3 separate regions of the Homo sapiens genome follow, and all the other regions are linked to region 2. The links are contacts of gene promoters, found by promoter capture Hi-C in blood cells and fetal thymus (Javierre and others, 2016). All regions are on one chromosome and are shown on one strand. The core of a region is centred on a gene start or on the middle of the fragment in contact, and the rest is flanking DNA. Distances in the headings are between cores, read along the strand shown.

Region 1 (4,470 bases), core at 1,706-4,205, 1.6 Mb after region 2:
CCTTTTCGGTTACAATGAATTACCAAACATGTGAACGAAGAAGCACAAGACAGTAAACTTCTATCCGGGGAACGTCTATCCTAATAATAGAATTTTATTATGTACAGGTTTCCATAGTTGCCATGATTTCAAAATAGTACCAAAAATTACATGAAAAATATTTAAAAACAAGATAAACAAGGCTTCATTAGATTTCATAGTACAATGATGGTTTTACTGTTAAATGAAAACAATTCACCCTTTCCTAGGAAACATATCAGCAGTAAGATAAACAAAAAAATTAAAATTTATACCTCAATCTGCTTATATCAGTTCCCGCCGGGGTAACTTAAAAGCAGCATTAGCATTACGTTAATCACTTAACTATAGCTTCGGTTAAAAAAGGCATGTGTTTCAACCTTCATATTTTACAGACTAAGAGAACTCAGAGTAGTAAACTGACTTTCTCAGACTCACACAAATTGTATGCTAAGACCAGGTGCGGTGGCTCACGGCTGTAATCCCAGCACTTTGGGAGGCCAACTCAGGTGGATCTCTTGAGCCCAGGAGTTAAGAGACTAGCTTTGGCAATATGGTGAAACCCCTTCTCTACAAAACACAGAAAAAAAAAATTGGCCCGGCGTGGTGATGCAGGCTTCCAGTCCCAGCAACCCGGGAGGCTGAGGTAGGAGGATCGCTTGAGACAGGGAGATCAAGGCTGCAGTGAGCCGTGATCACGAGCTGCTGCACTCCAGAGCTGCTGCACTCCAGCCCCGGGCCATAGAGTGAGATCCTCTCAAAAAAAAAAAAAAATTGTATGCTAAGCCTAGACTCTTGACCACCCCCAAGCCCTACTCAGTGCCATTTCCACCGCTCCACACATTTCGCTTTGGATACATTAATTATATGTTATTTTCTTCCCAACATCCAAAATAATACTATTGATTTAATGCTTTATCTGTTTTCAAAAACAAATTTTTATAATCTGATTTAAGTATCTTTCCAAAATGCCTGAAGACATTTCATGATGCTGCACAAAAACCCAAGCAAGATTTCTAGCAACGAGGTACACTGATCGAATACATCGAAATATCAGTTATAATATTCCTGTTTCCAATTTCCACAACAGAGTTGGCTTTGAACTGAAACTTCCTAAGAAAAAACCATTTCCTTTATTCACACTTCCAAGTTACATTTTGAATATTTCAAATAGCTCGGCACAAAAATCTAAAGTAATAGCTAACACCGTAACAAGACTGAGAGAAAAAGTTCCTTTTTTAAATGTGTTGCAAAGTTTGCTCTCACATCCTGGTAACTGGAAACTGCAACGCTGGGTGACTGACCAGCCTTTTTTTTTATTATTTAAAAATTCAAACGGCTATAAAGGGCTTCTAATGTGCGTCTTATTTTTAAAAGGTAAGGTAAAAACCCTTTTAACCTAATAGTAGGATATATGTGTACAGTTTCGTAATTCTGTTAAAGTTTGCAGAATTAATCACAATTCATGTGTTAAATGTTTAAATAACATCTAAGTCATTAAAACCGCTTAAGTGCACCAAAAAAGGGCAATAACGTTTGCTCCGCTTTGTTTCCTTAAAGTCTCCATCCAACTGAAGCTAACTACTTGCTGTGGACAAAATGATCACATTCCTTCTGCCTCCCCCTAACATTTCTGGTAAGAGAAAGACCTGGCTCTAGGAATGTGTGTTTAATGCAACCCTGAGCTCACTTCATCCTTTCATGGGGCAAATGTGGAATAAATTACCAATGAAAAACTTTAGTAATTTTAAGATTTGTTTTACTTGAAGGTAGGGGTGTACCAACAGCTGCCAACACTTCTGTTGAAGTGTTGTAACCGAAGAGGTAAAAAGTGTACTGAGTAATCCACAAAATTGGGTAGAGCAAAGGATGCACGCCATGCTTATAAAGAGTTTAATTTTAAAATTTTTTAAATTAAACCTTCAAGGGAACTAGCATGTGAACGCCAAGGCATAATCTGTTATTTAATTACGGGTCTCCATAGGACCGAGGCGGAGAGAGCTCCCGGTAGAACCGACGCAACCATCCCGGGATGGTGACCAACGCGCGGCTGCTGCGGGCAGAGGGACTGAAGAGAACCGGTGGTCCCGACGCTGGCCCCGAGCCCGAGGAGTTAAACTAACAAAGAGCTCCCCGAGCCGCGAAACCCCCCAGAGCGGAAGCGACGCCTCCCCGCCGCCGCCGCCGCGCCGCGACCCTCCCCAAGTTCAGGGCCCGGCAGTGGACTCGCTGCGGGGCCTGCGGCCAGGACGGCGCCGGGTTCGCAGTCGGGATGCGGGAAACAGGTAGAGGCCAGAATACGAGCCCCAAAGAGAAGAGTGGGCGCTTCCCCAAACGGGTCGGCGCAGCGGAAAAGGCTAACTGAAGCAAGCGGGAGGCCCCGCACCGAGGCCCTGCTTCCCGGGGAGCAGCCAGGCACAGCGGACAGGGGGGCCGCGCTTTGTTACCGGCTGAGAGAAGCTCCGGCCGCCGCCGCCGCCATCGCCCCCGCCCCGGGGCGTCGCTTCCCGGCGGTTCTCGCCTTCCTCGGCCGAGTAGTCGATCTCCCCCTCCTCGGTCTTGAGACGCTTGGCCTGGCTCTCGTACTCCCGGTCCTCCTCGTACGTCTCCCTGGGGGAGGAAGAGGAGGAGGACATGGCGGCGGCCGGAGGGACCGGCTGGCAGGCGGGTGGGGGTGGCGGTGGGGCGCGCGCCTCGGATGCCGCCGGCCAGTCCTCGCCGCCGGCAGCGCCTCTTCTGCGAGGGTCTCCGCGGCCCGGCCGTCCGCGGGGACTGCGCGGCCAGGAGACTGGCGGCTGAGAAGCGCGGACGGACTGAGGGGGGCGCCCCGGGAGGAAGCTCTGGAGCGGCCGCTCCTCTCAATTACCGAGCCAACATTCAGCCTCTCCCTCCTCCTCCTCCGTCTCCGCTCCCTGCCCGGAGGAGCGAATCTAAGGATGGGGACGCAACCGTGGCTTCCGGTCTTCCCTCCTCCCCTAAGCCGCTCCCAGCCGCGCAGGCCGAGCCTCCGCCCCCGCCTTCGCGGCCGTCGCGCAGGATCGAATCCAGCCGCAGCCTGCGGGAAGCGCCCCCCCCGGCCCGGGTTCTGCTCCCTATTGGCAGGGGCGGGAAAGTCGACCGGGCTTCCCATTGGCTGTGAGGGCCGTTCGTCAAAAGCCGCCCGCTGCTCGACCTCACTTCTCTCCCCGCGCCTTCTGAACTCGCCGCGGTCCTGGGAGGCCCGGCGCGCAAGGCGCGCCGCCTGGGAGTAGTTGCGACCCGCAACCGTTGGCGCTATGCGGCTCCTACCCGAGGCCAGGCGTGGAGTGAACACGGACGAGCGACGAGAAGTGCGGAGAGGCTAGGGCTGCGGGTGTTAACCGCCCTGCCGCTAATTTAAATGCTTTTTATCACCTCTTAAAAAGAGAATGAGGAAAAAAACCTCTAAAATCCCTGCAGTCATACCCCCCGAAAAGCCCTAAAATTGCAGGCGATGAAGGGAGAAAACGGCTTGGAGCCATGAGAATGGTCTTTCCACTGTTTTGTGTGCAAAATCTGGTAGAAGTGGGCGGACCCTCCCGCCCCTAGCTGGGTGTTGGAGAACAGCTGTCAGCATTGACTGAAGGCTGCGAGGCGCGCGTCGGCAGGAGGCGCTGCACGCGGGCGCTCGTCGGTCTGATCGGTTATAACTCGTTTGTAACCTGGGCCCTTTACTGACTTGCCTGTCCCTGTAAGTCCCTGCTCCAGTTAAATATGTTTTAATCCTTCCATATAAAATCTCATCCTCCATCCCAATTCTTTCTCTTCTGGACAATGTATTTACTTCACTTGATCATTTATTGTCGAAAGATACAAAAGCCTTTCAAAGTTCTGTGATCACAGCTTGCTTCCTCTGTGGTGTCCTGAGGGCTTTTCCAAGATTTTAGTTGCTGCTCTCTTTTTGCAACAGGGCCCCTTATAACTCCCTCTTAAGATGTTCTGTTTTAAAAACTCTGTGAGCGCCTGAAGACAGGAACTGTGTGCAATTTTCATTTTCGCAAGCCCAGTTCCTGTGCGATCTCCAGCACAATTTAGGTGCTCAACAATGCTGAATGAGTAGTCCTTGGGAAATAAAGGTCCAGTGTATCTTTCAGGACAGAAACTGGCAAATCAAGGCAACCTAACTGCCCTCTGTCAGGTGCCTCTTGGAGGACTGCCTGAGATCAAGAGCCTCTTGTGTTTCTGTTGTCCTTGTCCCTCGGATGCTTTCCTAGATGTGGCTCTTCCTTTCCTAAGAGTGTAGATTGCTTCCTCCTCCAGCCTAGTTCTCTCCAAAGTTATTTCCTCCTCCAAAAAAGCTATTTTTATTTATTGCTGAGAGTGCTTTAACATAACACTTTTGTACTTTGTAAATTACACCGGCTGTCATTTTGGAATCTAATTGCAAGATTTTCCACACTATGCAGCTATAATCAAATGTGTGTGCGGCTGCAG
Region 2 (4,706 bases), core at 2,005-4,504:
CAGGTTCTTGAAGAGGCAAATTTGACTTCATCTTAAAGGTATTTGTGTTGACTCTGGTGTTAATGGCTTAGGAAGAGATTTAAAAATTAAAAGGAGGACACCAACTGAGCCGTATTTCATCACAACGCATTCAACTATTTTACTTCCTATTGTGTTTCTAAGAAAATTCCAGTAGCAAAAGAAAAATAAAGAAGATTCAAATGTAACGATGGTAATAATTTTTTTTCCAATTACACTAATAAGGGGGGACAAAGACCAGAGATTACTGCAAACTCTTCCCCCCAAAATATATCATATTCATCCTGTTAGGAAAATGACACATTTTTAAAGTTTCTCTGTGGAAACTTTAATTGGAACACAAAACAGAAAATGCTGTCAAAAAAGTAGTGTCCTTGGCCGGGCACAGTGGCTCACGCCTGTAATACCAGCACTTTGGGAGGCTGAGGCAGGCAGATCACTGAGGTCAGTAGTTCAAGACCAACCTGGCCAACATTGTGAAACCCCGTCTCTACCAAAAATACAAAAATAAGCCAGGCATGGTGGTGCATGACTGTAATCCCAGCTACTTGGGAGGCTGAGGCAGAAGGATTGCTTAAACTTGGGAGGCTGAGGCAGAAGGATTGCTTAAACCTGGGAGGCGGAGGTTGCAGTGAGCTAAGACTGCACCACTGCACACCGGCCTGGGCAACAGAGCGAGACCCTCTCTCCAATAAAAGGAAAAAAAAAAAGGAGTCTCTTTAATATGATAAGCACCCATGGGAAAGCTACCTGAAGTTAATAAACATTTGCCACAAACAACCCAGGAAGGGGTGTTTGGAGATGTGTGCATAAAAACTGAAGATCAACTACAGTTACCAGTAAATTGAAAAGTTTAAACGAGGAGAGGGAGTGAACGGGGCGGGGCGGGGGGAAGGATGGGTTGGAATTCCCCAACTTCTACAGGTAGAAAGGTAAGCATTGTTTTCTGGTGTGTGTGTGTGTTTTGTTTTTGTTTTTTTTTTTTTAACCAAATTAGTGTGAGTTATCTATATTCCCAAAACTGGAAAAGAAATTAAATTTTAAGTAACTAATACAAAAATCATTCCCCACAACTGCACAACATTAAAGTTAAACTTTGCCTTTAACATTTCCTTGAATCCTGAAATCCACACCTTTTATAGAATGCGCTGCTAATAAAGATCAATCTGTAAGTATTCAAATTTGTTGGAGACTATATAAACAAGGTCAAAGAAGACTTGCAAATATCAGATAGACTAGATCGACTAAATACTACAGCAATATAACAATAGGAATGAAAAAGTTGCCAAATAATATAAACATGTAACTACAGACTTACAAGGAAATCATAGAAACTACTGGTCACTCCCTAACTTCATTCAGCTGCTCATTTGTCATCTCTCAGAGGCCTACCCTGACTACCCCATCTAAAATAGCTGCCCCTATCACACGCTATTCCTGAACTCTGACTTATTTCTTCCTCACAGCAGTTGCCACTATAAGCCATTATATTCTATAGGCGCATTTGCTGGACTGTTTGCCTCTCCACTAAAACATAAACTCCATGAGGGCAGAAGCTTGGTCGGTTTTCTTTCAACACAGGGCCTAGACACACAGCTGGCACTCAATACACAGGTGCTGAATAAAATACATGATAAAACTGAAACCCAGAGAGGTTAAAGGATTTCCTCAAGGTCACAGAGCTAGCAACAAACACAGCCCTTACTATAACCTTGTCTACTACAGCCTTGTGTGTTCGCTCTTTCCACAGCCACTTCCACTACACCAGAGCCTGTTCCAGCACATGATTCTATTTAACAGATTTCTCCTCTTCTTTTTTTTCTTAAGCGCCAAATACATGTTACCAAAAAAAGTGACACACTGGGTAGCATTTTAAACTCAAGTGTTTTGCCAACTAAAACTATACTCAAATTTCATAAGTATACAGGCTTAGCCCGTAAAACAGAAAGGCACAACTATTCATAGTTCTTTAAGTTCCTTTTGAAATTGGTGTGTATGCCCTGGAAGTTTTAAGAACAACCACTGAAAACCTATTCACCAATTCTGAATGGCTTGTAAAGTATCAGCCTCACTTTCATTCTTTTCAGAGCCCACAGTTATCTCCTCCCTGGATATACTTTATCTTGCAGATTATGCAAGGCAATGTAACTAACTTCAAAGTCCCTTTAGTTCCTTTTAAAGCACAAGAAAATCTCCCAAAACACTGAACATAAAATTAACCCTTGGGAAGTTTCAGATTCTGAGAACAGGAACCACCTCTTAACCATTCTCTCTGACTGCGATCATCTAGGTCCTTCATTCAAAATGCATTAATTGGAAATACCTAAAAGAAACGTGGGAGGGGGCCGGGGGGTCGGAAGAAAGTGGAGAACAGACATTTACATATATAAAAAAAGGGATCTGATATATGAATAACACTTTTGCCCAACGTCAACTTCTCGCCTCGACTCAAGGCCTGACACAACTTCTGTTGTCTTCTTGATCACCTTCCTTGAAGAGAGGGGCCAAAGCCGGCACGTTCTGCGGAGACTGTCTCTAGACCTAGGAAGGGGCACACCAGGGCAGCGGACGATTTGCTCCGCGTCTCTCAAAACTACTGCCAGCCCAATTAGTAAACCGAGAGGGCAGCCCTGAGATGCAGGATGGCCAGAGAGTTGAAATGAGTCTGGGAGTTAAGAGTGGGATGGGGCGGACGAACAGGCGTGGGGAGGGTAAACAACGCACCAGGAGCGGGAGTGAGAACAGGGTCGAGGTGGGGTCAGCGAAAGGCAAAAGGCGAAGAGAAGAAGGGGACGGGGCTCCGGGTGGGATGGGCGGCAGCAAAGGGGGAGGGGACGCGAGAAGGCTGGGGGAGGGGGAGAAGGGTCCGGGGCGGGGCGGAAGGGAGCAAAGAGGCGGGATGAAGACGGCCAGGCCGGGAGGGTCTTTACCTGCAGCTCCGCCCGCTCCACCTCCCACTGGGCTCTCTCCACCTCGAAGCGGGCCCACTCGTGCTGCAGGAAGTGCAGGATCCCCGGGAGACTGTACTGGGCTCGGGCCGCCCCCGCCGCAGCCGCCCCGTCGCCGGCCGCGGCAGCCTCCGCCAGAGGCCCGAGCCCCTTGGCACCGCCGGCGCCCGGGTGGTTGTTGCTGAAGAAGACGCCGGGACCCGCCTGCTCGTCCATGGCGGCCGCAGATACCCGGGGAGCTGCCCCGGCGCCCAGCAGCGGAGGCAACAGCGGCGGCAAGCAGCGCCTCCTCCTCCCTCCGCCGCTCCCGCCCACACCCCAGTCAGCAGGGAGCAGCCTCCTGGGCGCGGGGGCCGGCCGAGCCCGTGACGGGCCGGGAAATGGGTCAACTGCGGCGCGCTGGCGGCCCGGGGCTTGCCGGGAAATGTAGTCGCGGGGCGGGGCGCGGGCTAGCGCGGCCCGGGCGGCCTGTAGGGCTGTGCCTCAGCTTGGGCGTGGCCTCGGGCCCGCCCCGCCCCGGCTCGCCGCGTAGGGGGCCGGCTGGGCGGGGAGAGCGGGTTTCCTCTGGGGCCGGCTGGGCGCGGGCGGGCGGGTCTCCAGTCTTCCTCGCACGCGGAAGTTCGCGGGCGGCGCACCCTGTTGCATTCAAAAACACACACACACACACACACACACACACACGGAAGTTGTCACGCCAAGATACCTGCCCGAGCTGCACATCTTTTAAGGCTTCCTGGCCGTTCTGTGAAGGAACAGGCTCAAAGCGAGCTACCCGGTGCGGCCGCGGGACCGGGGTTCTCCCGCCAGCTGCCCTGCGTGCTCTCGCTTCGGCTTCGTGTTCGGAGTTTCTCTCACCCTAGACGCTCCTCCATTCTGCCAATCTGCGGGTCGCTGTCGCTCTTGCCTTTCTCTTTTGACTCGAGGGGCTCAAACCTGTTACCTGACCAGTTTTCATTTCTAAGGAACGCCGATCACCTTTCTAAGACAACGCCGCAGCTTTCTGCTGCTGCTTCCAAATTGTGGTTTGTTGACAGCCCATCTGAAAAACTGCTCCGTTGAAGTTTCTTTCCCTTTGCAGTCCTCCTGCAGTAAATCCTGTAAAAGTTTTAGCATCCAATAATAGATGTTCTGTTATTTCGGTCTCATTTTTCCTATCTTATTCCCGCTGATTTTTACTCTACTTAATTGAACAAATATTTTGATTATCGGTTTTCTCTTGCGCTGGGAATATTAAGATAAATGACATCGTTTCTGTCATCAAAGATTGGCGTATAATCAAATATCACAAAGGCTTAATTTAAAAGCTACACCACCTTGAAAAAGCAAGTTCCCTTTCTGCTCCCTAGCGCGGTCTTAGATATCCTGGCCCCTCTCCGTTTTCACTTGTCCTGTTCCCAGTTTCTTTCACGATTCACCTGCCAACTGGCAACAGCATCCGCCTACCAAAGGTACACCAAAGTCCTTTCAAGTTACTCTCTGTAAATATTTGCCTTCTCCGAAGTCTGACAATATGTCACTATAAATTCACACTACAACAGTGGCAAAAAGGAAGGCCCCTGAAAACAATTTAACAAATGCAAATGAAATTAAGCACTTATTTTGTCACCCTAACAAGTTATCTGAAATTCTTACGTTTTGTAGGACGTACTTGTGGGTTATCAGACTTGATGGCCATGAAAAAATGTAAAGATCTAGGCTGCTGAGTGACATGTCAGGGAAAGACATCCTGTCCCTGTCCTC
Region 3 (5,012 bases), core at 881-3,380, 1.4 Mb after region 2:
GGGAGGCCGAGGCAGGCACATCACAAGGTCAGGAAATCGAGACCACCCTGGCTAACATGGTGAAACCCCGTCTCTACTAAAAATACAAAAAATTAGCTGGGCATGGTGGCACGTGCCTGTAGTCCCAGTTACTTGGGAGGCTGAGGCAGGAGAATCACTTGAACCTGGGAGGCAGAGGTTGCTGTGAGCCAAGATTGCACCACTGCACTCCAGCCTGGTGACAGTGTGAGACTCCATATCAAAAAAAAAAAAGACAGGGTCTCACTCTTGACACCCAGGCTGGGGTGCAATGGCACGATCTCGGCTCACTGCAACCTCCACCTCCTGGGTTCAAGCGATTGCCCTGCCTCAGCGTTCCCAAGTAGCTGGGATTACAGGTGCGCGCCACCACGCCCGGCTACTTTTTGTATTTTCAATAGAGATGGGGTTTCACCATGTTGGTCAGGCTGGAGCCCATGTTCTTAACCGTGTATCTTCAGATAACACACTGGCATTGTGGCTAGGCACTGAAAACTCTACAATCACCTTCTACAGACAACTAAATAGCTAGAAGCATAGCTTCTGGATGTCCAGAAGACTGTTTTGAATAGCTGGAGAGGATGAGGTGCAGATTTAGGGCACCCATGATCAAGATAACTGGCACTGTCCTAGATGCAACTGGTAGCTCCTACTTGAACGACTGACTACTATAGAGTTCATAGGTGTCTTGCAGTTACTAAAATGATTTAGTAGCAGGAGGAACAAAAGTTCAAATCCAGAAACTGGACTTGTTTATGTTTGGAAAAATAGATAGATACTGGTTTTTTAATTACAATTCGCATACAAAAGAACACTGGCAGGAACTCTAGGCACAATATAATATCCTATAGTACATTTTCAAAAATAAAAATGAAGGAGTGGCCAGGCGCAGTGGCTCACGCCTGTAATCCCAGCACTTTAGGAGGCCGAGGCGGGCGGATCGCCTGAGGTTGGGAGTTTGAGACGGGCCTGACCAACATGGAGAAACTCCATCTCTACTAAAAATACAAAATTAGCTGGGCGTGGTGGCGCATGTCTGTAATTCCAGCTACTCGGGAGGCTGAGGCAGAAGAATCGCTTGAACCCAGGAGGCGGAGGTTGCAGAGAGCCGAGATCGTGCCATGGCACTCCAGCCTGGGCAACAAGAGCTAAACTCAGTCTCAAAAAATAAGTAAATAAAAACAAAACAAAAAAAGGAGTGAAAGTAAACACCATTACGCAGAAAACATGCTTGTAGCTTGAAGCGAACATGGCCGTGTGCTTTAGGCTCCTCTGAAAACGGGGTGGTGAATGGTATCCTCTTTGAACAGCCTGTCTGGACCGCGCCTAATGTGTTTCTCATAACTGGCCTGCCCTCAGGAATGCCTTTGAAATCAGTGGGAAATCCAGACTGCATAGAAGGAACTGTATATCTTGGCCTCTTTTAAGATTAAGACAATATCTACATAGGCCTTATTACAGCCAACATACTGTTCTTGTAACTGGAGAGCAGCCAAATCTTTCTTTCCAACTCACACTCAAGCTAAATTCCTAACTTCTAAAAACTGGCTGGCTGGTTGGTAGGAAGAAACACTGCACCTTGACAATGTCCTTAGAGTCACTGTCCATGTTGTAACCTATTTAATTCTTGGATTCACGGCCACTAGAGTCATTTCGTTATTATACTTTGATGGTGAAATCTGTACTCACCTCAAACACTTCCTCCTAGACTCACACCATTTCTCCCCTTCCCAAATATTCTTGGGGTCTGTCTTCAATTATAAATGCTCAGAATACGAGTTCCATCTTTTCATTTTCCCCACAGTTCTTTGCTCAGACTCAAATATTGCATGTAATGCCACTGCCACTTGGTCGGCCTGGCAAATATTTATCTTTCAAGCTTATCCTGATCACCCTCCAAGAAGGCGAGCTATAGTAAGACATAATAAAATGACTGTTGTTTTAAGACATTTTGTTTTGTAACTGGAGAGCAGCCAAATATTTCCTTTCATCTCTGTAATTTGCTATAGAGCAACTGGTAACCAGAACACATACCCTTGGTGTCATACCAATATATAAACATATATATGTGGTAAATGCATAAGCAAATACAGAGCAATAATAAACTCTGAATTCAGATAGTGCTAATCACTCTCTGTTAAAGTTACTTGTTTGCTTCTGCTGTCTAAAGCAGTGGCTCTTAATTTTTTCACATTGTTTTGTTTTACAGTGATACAAATGACAAATGGCACTCACCAACAGGACATGTTCCATAGGTGTGCCCCAATATCCATTGGTGGCCACTGTAAATGAGACTATGCGCCATGTAGCTCCCATCAGGAACAGATTTAGTATTTTGGGGGTCCTGAAGCTTCTACAAGTTTGAGAAATTTCTTTAAGAAAACAAATTGTGAGGCTAGGCTTATGCCTGTAATCCCAGCACTTTGGGAGGCTGAGGCAGGTGGATCACTTGAGTTCCAGACCAAACCAGGCAACATGGCAAAACCCCATCCCTACAAAAAAATACAAAAAATTAGCCATGTGTGGTGGTGCCCACCTGTATTCCCAGCTACTTGGGAGGCTGAGGTGAGAGGATCACTTGAGCCCAGGAAGTTGAGGCTGCAGTGAGTCGACATTGCACCACTGCACCCCAGCCTCGGCAATGTGAGTGAGACCCTGTCTTGAAAAAAAAAAACAAAAAAACCCCCACAAAAAACAAATTGTGAATTAAAACAAATTATATAAGTAAATGCATATTTAGCATAAGAAAAGAAATCCCCTCAAAATACCAAATTTTATCTAATACATACTACAATACAGAAAAATAATTTTTTTATTTATTAACTTCATAGCATACCTTTCTAATACCACATTTTCTTTCTTTTTTTTTTTTTTGTTTGAGACAGAGTCTTCTCAGCTCTTTTGCCCAGGCTGCAGTACAGTGGTGTGATCTCAGCTCACTGCAACCTCTCCCTTCCAGGTTCAAGTGATTCTCCTGCCTCAGCCTCCCACATAGCTGAGATTACAGGTGTGCACCACCATGCCCGGCTCATTTTTGTATTTTTAGTAGAGACAGGGTTTCACCATGTTGGCCAGGCTGCTCTCGAACTCCTGACCTCAAGTGATCCGCCCACCTCGGCCTCCCAAAGTGCTGGGATTATAAGCATGAGCCAACTCGCCCAGCCTAAACCATTTTTTCTGATCTTTTCACTGTATGGTCTTTGACTCTTCATATTATGCCAATTTGGGGATATCATTTTCTGAAGAGAGAATAGAAAGGCAATTCAGTTTTTCCTGTAGTGTAGTGAATAAAGTTTTTATTTGTCTGTGACTTAGAAAATTCTCTTTCAGTCTGGGTGTGATGGCTCATGCTTGTAAATCCCAGCACTTTGGGAGGCCAAGGCGGGCTAATTGCTTGAGCCCAGGAGTTCAAGACCAGCCTGGGCAACATAGAGAAACCCCATCTCTCCAAAAAAAACACAAAAATTAGCCAGGTGCGATGGTGTGCACCTGTAGTCCCTGCTACTCGGGAGGCTGAGGTGGAAGAATTACTTGAGCCAGGGAGGTTGAGGTTGCTGTGAGGCATGATCATGCCACTGCACTCCGGCATGGGTGACACAATGAGACCCTATCTCAAAAAAGAAGAAAGAAAGAAAGAAAGAAAGAAAGAAAAGAAAGAAAGAAAGAAAGAAAGGAAAGAAAGAAAGAAAGAAAGAAAGAAAGAAAGAAAGAAAGAAAGAAAGAAAGAAAGAGGGAGGGAGGGAGGGAGGGAGGGAGGGAGGGAGGGAAGGAAGGAAGGAAGGAAGGAAGGAAGGAAGGAAGGAAGAAAGAGAAGGAAAGAGAAAGAAAGAAAGAAAGGAAGGAAGGAAGGAAGGAAGGAAGGAAGGAAGGAGAGAGAGAGAGGAAGGAAGGAAGGAAAGAAAGAAAAAGAAAAGAAAAGACGGAAGAGAAGGGAAGGGCAGGACAGGGCTCGGCAAATTAAAAATGATGGTTCATGGTGGTTAGGTGTAAATGGGCCTTAGTCATGCCTTCTTAGCTTCCCTTGGCTGGGACCCAGAGGTCACCACACACACTATAGAGGATTAGGGAGGTAGCTGAGTTAAGAACCAGAGGTCATCATAGTGGTACAGTGGTGTTCAGTCTATGCCAGGAATCAGATGGATGCTGGAGGTGAGATTCAGACAGGTACACCAAGGAGACCTGAATCACAAAAAGGAGCACCAGGACCTGAGTAAAAACCAAAGAACAAAACATAGGGTCAGCTCCAATTCCAGGGATATGAGCGCAAGGGACCCAGGAATCAGACTAGCCAACCCACCTCACAGCAGAGCCCACCGAAGCCCCACACAAGAGCACTAGGATCCAGGCACACATCCCAGGCCTCCTCCCCGCTGCTAGGTGGTCACACGAGAAAGCTTCCCACGCTGTCTGCAATCTTGTTCCTTTAGTTGTTGTTTTAGGAGGGAGTAGAAACAACGGAGCCTAAGATACCCAGAATCAGATTCTCAAGTCACAGAGGAAACTCCCTAGAATCGTTTGCTAACACTTAAAATAACATCTAACATTTATCAGGTACTTACATGTGCCAAGAATTCATATGAAGTAATAATTTATTAGTTTTTTTTTCTTTTTTTTTTTTTTGAGATGGGGTTTCACTCTTGTCGCCCAGGCTGGAGTGCAATGGCACGATCTTGGCTCACTGCAACCTCTGCCTCCTGGGTTCAAGCAATCCTCCTGCCTCAGCCTCCTGGGTAGCTGGGATTACAGGTGTGTACCACCACGCCCAGCCCATTTTTTTTTTTTTTTTTTTTGAGACGGAGTCTCGCTCTGTCGCCCAGGCTGGAGTGCAGTGGCGGGATCTCGGCTCACTGCAAGCTCCGCCTCCCGGGTTCACGCCATTCTCCTGCCTCAGCCTCCCAAGTAGCTGGGACTACAGGCGCCCGCCACTACGCCCGGCTAATTTTTTGTATTTTTAGTAGAGACGGGGTTTCACCATTTTAGCCGGGATGGTCTCG

The links. Contacts are between HindIII fragments. The CHiCAGO score rates a contact against its expected background, and 5 or more counts as called.
Region 1: a contact is called between the fragment with the promoter of HNRNPLL here and the fragment with the promoter of STRN in region 2, in 1 of 17 cell types (neutrophils). The highest score is 5.7, in neutrophils.
Region 3: a contact is called between a fragment that was not itself captured here and the fragment with the promoter of STRN in region 2, in 1 of 17 cell types (monocytes). The highest score is 5.6, in monocytes.

What each region holds. Positions count from the first base shown.
Region 1 is chr2:38,599,973-38,604,442 of GRCh38, forward strand. It overlaps HNRNPLL (heterogeneous nuclear ribonucleoprotein L like), which reads right to left and starts at 2,956. Exons shown (of 13, transcript NM_138394.4): 1 at 2,466-2,956. The coding sequence starts at 2,654. RefSeq lists silencers at 2,676-2,775, 2,796-2,845, 3,066-3,135. The HindIII fragment of the contact is 8,602 bases long and covers 1-4,470 here.
Region 2 is chr2:36,963,282-36,967,987 of GRCh38, forward strand. STRN (striatin) reads right to left here and starts at 3,255. Exons shown (of 18, transcript NM_003162.4): 1 at 2,949-3,255. The coding sequence starts at 3,182. RefSeq lists a silencer at 2,936-3,745. The HindIII fragment of the contact is 8,803 bases long and covers 1,573-4,706 here.
Region 3 is chr2:38,382,566-38,387,577 of GRCh38, forward strand. No RefSeq gene overlaps it. Among named protein-coding and RNA genes, the nearest start is that of ATL2, 7.8 kb to the left of the region's middle. The HindIII fragment of the contact is 471 bases long and covers 1,896-2,366 here.